Regions from separate parts of the Homo sapiens genome. Here region 1 is linked to region 2. Evidence: promoter capture Hi-C in human tissues and cell types (Jung and others, 2019). All regions are on one chromosome and are shown on one strand. Each heading gives the region's core, a stretch centred on a gene start or on the middle of the fragment in contact. The rest is flanking DNA. Distances are from core to core; before and after follow the strand shown.

Evidence for each region. Contacts are between HindIII fragments. The study calls those that stand out against the background at their distance.
Region 1: a fragment that was not itself captured here is called in contact with the fragment with the promoter of GPR158 in region 2 in 1 of the 25 tissues and cell types used here (dorsolateral prefrontal cortex).

What each region holds. Positions count from the first base shown.
Region 1 is chr10:24,728,050-24,731,873 of GRCh38, forward strand. No RefSeq gene overlaps it. Among named protein-coding and RNA genes, the nearest start is that of ARHGAP21, 6.1 kb to the left of the region's middle. The HindIII fragment of the contact is 4,272 bases long and covers 1-3,424 here.
Region 2 is chr10:25,173,522-25,177,174 of GRCh38, forward strand. GPR158 (G protein-coupled receptor 158) reads left to right here and starts at 1,480. Exons shown (of 11, transcript NM_020752.3): 1 at 1,480-2,801. The coding sequence starts at 1,900. It overlaps GPR158-AS1 (GPR158 antisense RNA 1), which reads right to left and starts at 2,755. Exons shown (of 2, transcript NR_027333.2): 1 at 2,155-2,755. The HindIII fragment of the contact is 11,687 bases long and covers 1-3,653 here.

The DNA of each region.
Region 1 (3,824 bases), core at 39-2,538, 450 kb before region 2:
CCAGAGGGAGGGCAAGGGAAAGGAAAGGGGGCCAAACTTCAGTCACGCGGCTACGTGTTAGTTTCAGTGAGAGATTTGGTGAAACAATAGGTTTTGGGGCCATTGTAACTGAAAGGAGATTGAAACTAACTGGTTGCTATCTTGATAGTTTTCTTTATCCTCAAATATCATGGATAAGCAAGAGCTAACAGTAATTCTAGCTTTGTTTGCTTTGAAAGGCTATTTTCCTCCTTAGAGTATAGCTAATAAATGTGTGGGTTTCCTATAATCAAACTTCTTGGAGTATCCTTTGAAATAGCCTCTGAAATTACTATAGCTATATTAATAAAAACTACAAGAAAGCTTTATACACTAAATCTAGGCAAGACATTTATGAAGATGAGAACTGTATCCTTAAAAGGTAAGTGTTGGCTTTGCTAATGACATAATATTGTTTTGGTGAACCAATATCAAGGGAAAAAATGTCAAAGCCAAAAATAGAGGCAAAGTATCCCAGCCCCTGGTGTGGAAGGCCATTCTATGATAATCTATGAATGATTTCTACTCTGAATATGTTAACAGAAGCTGGCACATCTGAGAAGCACAAGTGTTTGCTAGTGAATCCACAAATGAAATTTGCAATTTGGGTTGAAGCCTTTGCAAAACTACGTTAAGACCAATAGCCCTCAGAAGAGTAAGGGGTTTTGTTTTGTTTATTTCTTATTCACACATTACCAAAAAGACACATTACATGCTAATATTACTTTGAAAGAGCAAAAGACTTTTTTTTTTTTTTTGAGACGGAGTCTCACTTTGTCATCCAGGCTGGAGTGCAGTGGTGTGATCTTGGCTCACTGCAACCTCTGCCTCCTGGGTTCAAGGGATTCTCGTGCCTTAGCCTCCCCAGTAGCTGGGACGACAGGCATGCACCACCACACCCAGCTAATTTTTGTATTTTTTAGTAGAGACAGAATTTTACCATGTTGGCCAGGCTGGTCTCGAACTCCTGACCTCAGGTGATCCACCCACCCCGCCCTCCCAAAGTGCTGGGATTACAGGCGTGAGCCACCATGCCTGGACAAAAAAAGCAAAAGATTTTCATGTTGAACTGAATAGCTACAGAAATCCCACCACACTTGCAAGGCATTTAACTATTGTAATTGAGAGAAGGGAATGATTCTCCACAATCAGCAATTTCTAGGACTCTTCCTTCATCTCTTTTAAACAAATAATGTAAATGATTTACTAATTTATTGTTCTGCATTTGCTAAATATGTATCTTATTATTTCTCTCCACATGATTACTATCTTTGATGATTAATTTCTAGAAGGCAATGACATTATTTAATTCATTATATACAATGCCTAGTAAAGTGCCACACACAATAAATATTCTTGAATAATTTATCTGCCCTCAGTTTATTGTCATCTTTTCCTCCTCTGGACTAGAATACTGGTGTTTATTTTTGGGTTTGTTTGTTTGTTTGTTTGTTGCTGTTACTTGATTATAAACAATCTTCTTTTGTTACACGGATATATTGTGGGAAAAAAATAATAAATCTTATTTAGCTAAATATTATCTCCTTTTTTAATCTGGATTATAAACTTCTCTAGAGGAGATTCCTGGAGCTTTTACTACTTTCACATCCCCACAATATCTACCACATCTTTTACACATAGAAATTACTACAGAATTATTCAAGAAATAAAAGATGGTTATGTCACTATTATTGATAAATATTTATACCTCAAGAAATTCCTGGCTGTACAGGTCCAATAACAGTACAGGTCACAGGAAGATATATGTATAGGCCTATGTGAATATGCCTAAAACAAAGAGTGTAAATTATAAGAGGTATCCACAAAGAGAACACTTGGTATGGGCCTCAACTTTCGGAAATGCCACATTTTATCTCCTTATCGAAACTTCTCTGGCCAGGCGCTGTGGCTCACACCTGTAATCCCAGTACTTTGGGAGGCCCGAGTGGGTGGATCACTTGAGGTCAGACATTCGAGACCAGCCTGGACAACATGGTAAAACCCCATCTCTACTAAAACTACAAAAATTAGCTGGGCATGGTGGCACGGTCCTGTAATCCCAGCTTACTCAGGAGGCTGAGACAGGAGAATTGCTTGAACCTGGGAGGCAGGGCCAAGCCTGGTTGACAGAGTGACACTCCATCTCAAATAAATAAATAAATAAACTTCACTGCCAGCGATTTAGCTGTTTTTCAGCCATAAGACCATCCTAAAAATTAATATCACTTACATTTTGGTAGAAACTATAAAATTTCACCCCAAAGCTTATCCATAATCATATATCAAAAGTTTTCTTTAGATCCAAATTATTATTCAGCATTAGAATTTCCATAATTAAAATTTAGTGGTATGCTAGTCATAGTCATCAACATTGTTAAGTTTATTTATATGTTTTAAGAAAAAATATGAATAAAAAATCCATGTGCAAGTTTTTATTTTATCCTAAGAATCGTGACTTTCATTTATAAGTATTCCAACTTTCCTTAAAAATATGAGACTAGTTTTTAAAATGTTTCCACCCACCCAACTAAATATGAGTTGGAACATTGTGAAAATACAGTGCAATCTGGAGAAACCCATATTACAACTGGAGAATTGAAATATGTTTTTATCATTTTGGAATAGAATGCTAAATTCCAAACATTTTAACTAGGAAACTGTGCTAGCAGTTGATTTTTAATATCATAGGCCTAATCCAAAGTAATCAAATCTTTTCATCAAAAAAAATAAAAAGTTCTAGCCTTCCCTTTCATTGTCATTGAGCAGAATCAGGAAAGACACCTAAAGACTTCTCTATTCCTTGATTCAAGAAACTCTGAGTATCTTTCAATATTGTCTAGCACTGTAGATTCCATTCCTCTATCCCTATAATTGCTTGCATTCCTTATTAATCCAAAAGTCAACTAACCAAGGCTTCTTCCCTCAGATAGGAAAAGATCGCAGGGCAATATGTGGTAATTCACATCTGGGCTTAAGTAGGATAGATGGCAGGCTTACATAACCTTTCTCCTCAAAGATTTTTTCAATTATATTTTAATTTTTAAAAATTACGAAGTAAAAAAGAAAAAAACAAACACTAAAACTATGAAGGGGCCCAATCTCATACCACATTTTACGAACCCATTCTCATGCCTCCTTCCAGCTTTCTTCTGTGGCTCCTCATTGCTTGAATCCAACAAGAAGCCTGGGGTCCTCAAAGATAATTCATCCACCCTGTTTCTTTCAATATAAATAGAAATTTTAGATAGTAAATATTCATCAAAGATGAATGAAAAGGAAATAAGACTGACATAAACATTTTAAATTGTGATATTGGGGAAGAGATGAAATAAAGGAATATATTCTAAAAAGAAAAGATATATTATGGAAGAAGATTAACCCCAGTAAGCAGAAGAAATATAGAGACAAATGTTTCATACCCCGAAGAAAATAAAATATATCAAAAGTGAAATCACAAGAGAATGAATGAAATATAAAAGATGTTAGAATGGCTAAGAGAAGGTATTGAGAGGGAAAAATCATACCGTTGCAGAAATAATACATGAATTAGAAATAAGAAGAAATAAGAAATGTCTGGCCGGGCACAGTGGCTCATGCCTGTAATCCTAGCACAGAGGCCAAGGTGGGAGGATCACTTGAGCCTGGGAATTCAAGACCAGCCTGGGCAACACAGTGAGACCTCATCTCTATTTTTAAAAAATAAAAATAAGAAATATCTAGCAGAAAATTGTGGGATGGATGACAGATTTGTTTTAAAGCACATCAAATACAAAGGAAAAGGACAAAGATTAAAGTGATTAGACAGG
Region 2 (3,653 bases), core at 230-2,729:
TCTGGGTGCTCAAGGTACCTCAGTGACCAATGCAGACAAAGATTTTTGCTCTTTTGGAGCTTACATTCCAGTCCTTAAGTATTTTCTCAATAGGAAGGATGACATGAAATAGTACAGTGAATCTAAGCAGTGCCTGCTTAGAATGCCATGAGGGACATTTTTGTTAGTTGGGAATTAAAGTAAGTTGGATATTTTCTATTTGTGTCTTTCTTGGGGAATTTGAAAATAGAGGTGCATATGGAAAGTGGAGCTAGCTGTGCAAAACACTACTTTTCTGGTACCAGTCTACTTTTGGAGTGTCAGAAGACACTTAAATTCTCTAATAAGCGTCAAAACATCAATTAGATTGTGTTAAGAAATTTACCAATAATTTGGGGGACTTGGCATACTTGCTCAGTTCTTCTTTCTTCTGCTGGGATATCCCAACCTTTAGCTAAATAGAAGTCTTAGTTCTTATCTCTCAATTCCAGGAACTCCCAGTCAGGATGATTTCCCTTCTCACTCAACACAGGCTCCTTCTCATTCTCCCAGAGCTCATGAGTCCTCCCCCTTGCTCTCTCCCTTACACATCTTTACTTGCATACATTTTTACACGTTCCCCTCCATTCTGGCCCCCAAGCAGAGATTCCTTAAATATGACTTTTTTTTCTCTCCTTAAAGCACAGCTGGTAGATTTCTCCATTACTCCCTCAGCTAAGATGAGCCTAGACAAGTATGTTTTAATCATTTCTTTAACTGACAACAAGAAAGATGATTTGATAATTTGCCTAAAATGAGCAGATGCTCAGGAGGACACGTCTCCATCCTATGTCCCTTCTGTCTAATTTCACCTAGAAATGAAAACTACTCCCTTCTCCCTCTTTTCCAGGCAAAAGGCTGATTTAACTAAGCATGCAAGACGCCAACACCCTCCCCCTCAGTACGTCCAAGTTTCCTTCGCTCTGAGCCACCGAATCTCTGCTTCTCCCCCCTCTGCCGCCCACCCTACGCCACCCACGCAGGTTTCCGAGTCATCCGGAACGCGAGTGGGTGCGAGGACTCGGCAGGCTGCCTCCCGCGCCCCCGCCGCCCGCGGGCCGCCTCGGGTTCAGCACTGGACAGCTCCCTCCCCGGCCCCACAAATGGCAGTCGGCTGATTGACAGAGGAGCCGACCAAACAGGGAACAAGACGACTTGCAGCCGCCCTACAAGGGTTTGGTTGCGGCCAAGCTGCCTCTTTAAACTGGCTTTCCTCCCCCGAGGAGGGAGCAGGGAGAGAGGGTGGAGTGTGGTTTGCGGCCAAACCTAAAGGCTGCAATTAACCAGCCGCCCGGCCTTCGCTACTCCGGACAGACGAACGTCTTAAAGGACGTCTTCGCTCCTCGGGAGTCGCGGCTGCGCTCGCGGTGCGGGTCTGGGCGCGCGCCCCGCGCCTCCGGGCGAAGCGGTCGAGGAGGAGCCAGTGCCGGGAGGCGGGAACGACCTGCGGCGGGTGAGACTATGGAGCAGCGTCTTCGGCGGCCGCGGCGGCAGCAGCAGCAGCAGCTTCTGAACGCGCCTCAATGAGAGCGGCGGTGGCGGCAGCCGGGCCGAGAGACGGACTCGGGCTGACTCCAGCCGCTGGGAGCGCGAGGCCATGTAACCCGCTCGGCTCCAGGCTGCGAGGTGCGTAATCCCCAGCCGGCCCCTCGCGCAGCGGGCACGGCCAGCGCTGCCACAGGTGACTTGATTTCTGCGACGGTAGCTTAGCCACCCGGGGCCAATCTCGAAACATTCTTATTTTCAAGTCCTTTGGACTGGGTGCCATCTGGAGAAGGGGGAAGACTCCTCGAAAAAGTCTGACTGTTGAGAAACTGACGATCCAAATTTAAAAAGTGATTCCCCCCCCTCCCGTTCCCTCCTCTTCTCTCTGGGAGGCAGATGGGAGCCATGGCTTACCCCTTACTCCTCTGCCTCCTGCTTGCTCAGCTGGGATTGGGAGCTGTTGGCGCCAGCCGCGACCCCCAAGGACGGCCGGATTCCCCTCGAGAGAGGACCCCGAAGGGGAAGCCGCACGCCCAGCAGCCGGGTCGAGCCTCTGCCTCGGACTCCTCGGCTCCCTGGAGCCGCTCCACCGATGGCACCATCTTGGCGCAGAAACTCGCCGAGGAGGTGCCCATGGACGTGGCCTCTTACCTCTACACCGGGGACTCCCACCAGCTGAAGCGAGCCAACTGCTCCGGCCGCTACGAGTTGGCGGGCCTGCCGGGGAAGTGGCCAGCCCTGGCCAGCGCGCACCCCTCCTTGCACCGGGCGCTGGACACACTGACACACGCCACCAACTTCCTCAACGTGATGCTGCAGAGCAATAAGTCGCGGGAGCAGAACTTGCAGGACGACCTGGATTGGTACCAGGCGCTGGTGTGGAGCCTTCTGGAGGGCGAGCCCAGCATCTCCCGGGCGGCCATCACCTTCAGCACCGATTCGCTGTCCGCACCGGCCCCACAGGTCTTCCTCCAGGCCACGCGCGAGGAGAGCCGCATCCTGCTCCAAGACCTGTCCTCCTCCGCACCCCACCTGGCCAACGCCACTCTGGAGACCGAGTGGTTCCACGGCCTCCGGCGCAAGTGGAGGCCCCACTTACACCGCCGCGGCCCCAATCAGGGGCCCCGGGGCCTGGGCCACAGCTGGCGGCGCAAGGACGGGCTCGGCGGGGACAAGAGCCACTTCAAGTGGTCTCCGCCTTATCTGGAGTGCGAGAACGGGAGTTACAAGCCCGGGTGGCTGGTTACTCTTTCCTCTGCCATCTACGGGTTGCAGCCTAACCTGGTCCCGGAATTCAGGTAGGGAGGGCCGGGGGGCAGGGGGGAAGGCAAAAGCGAAGCTTTCCTTCCGGTCTTGTGGGTGGGTGCACGTGTGAGGAAGGAACCCTTGGCTGTGACGCGAACGCTTCTCACCCTCAGAGTAGAGACCCGGGCTGAGGGACACCCCACGCGGGCGCGGGTGCTTGGGGGCAAGAAGCGCCCCACGCCCGTCAGCTTCCGGCGCTCGGCGAAAGCCATTCATTCTCTCGGACCAGTTTCCCCGCACTGGGCGAGGGACAGGCAGCCCTTGGCAGGACGGAGACACCCCCGCTGCTCTGTGCTTCCCTCCAATTGTCCGGAGAGCAGGGAGGGGCGTTCCCCACCGGGGGGCGATGCGACAACTTGGCGAGCGCCGGGTGTGTCCGCGGAGTGGCAAGCCTCAGATGAGAGGCGAAAAGGGAGCAGGAGGAACAGAGAGTTCCTTGTTTCTGCCACTTTGGGGTAGCCTCTGCCTGCTTCCTACGTGTGCAGTTGGGGGCACCGGTCTGTTGTTAGTCAGAGCTTATAATTAAAACTGTGCCATCTCCTCGCAGTTCCGGCCCCTCAGCAGTGAGTCAGTCCCAGCAGCTAGCTGTCTCTGGGATCCAGACTTTGCAGCTTGGTCAGGGTGCTCCTTCTACCGGTCTCCCCTCTCCCCGCAATTGATCTTTCCTTCCTCGGTGGCCTTTTCCTCCTCTTCCCTGTCTTAGGCATACTTAAGGGTTCTCCAGCCCTTCACACACTCACATGATTTATAAAAGGACCTAGTTATATTCGGGAGGGAGGCATCAGTTGTGACTGAATTCACTCAAGGAGGCTGGAGGAAACTTAAGGGAGTCTGTACTTCCTGTC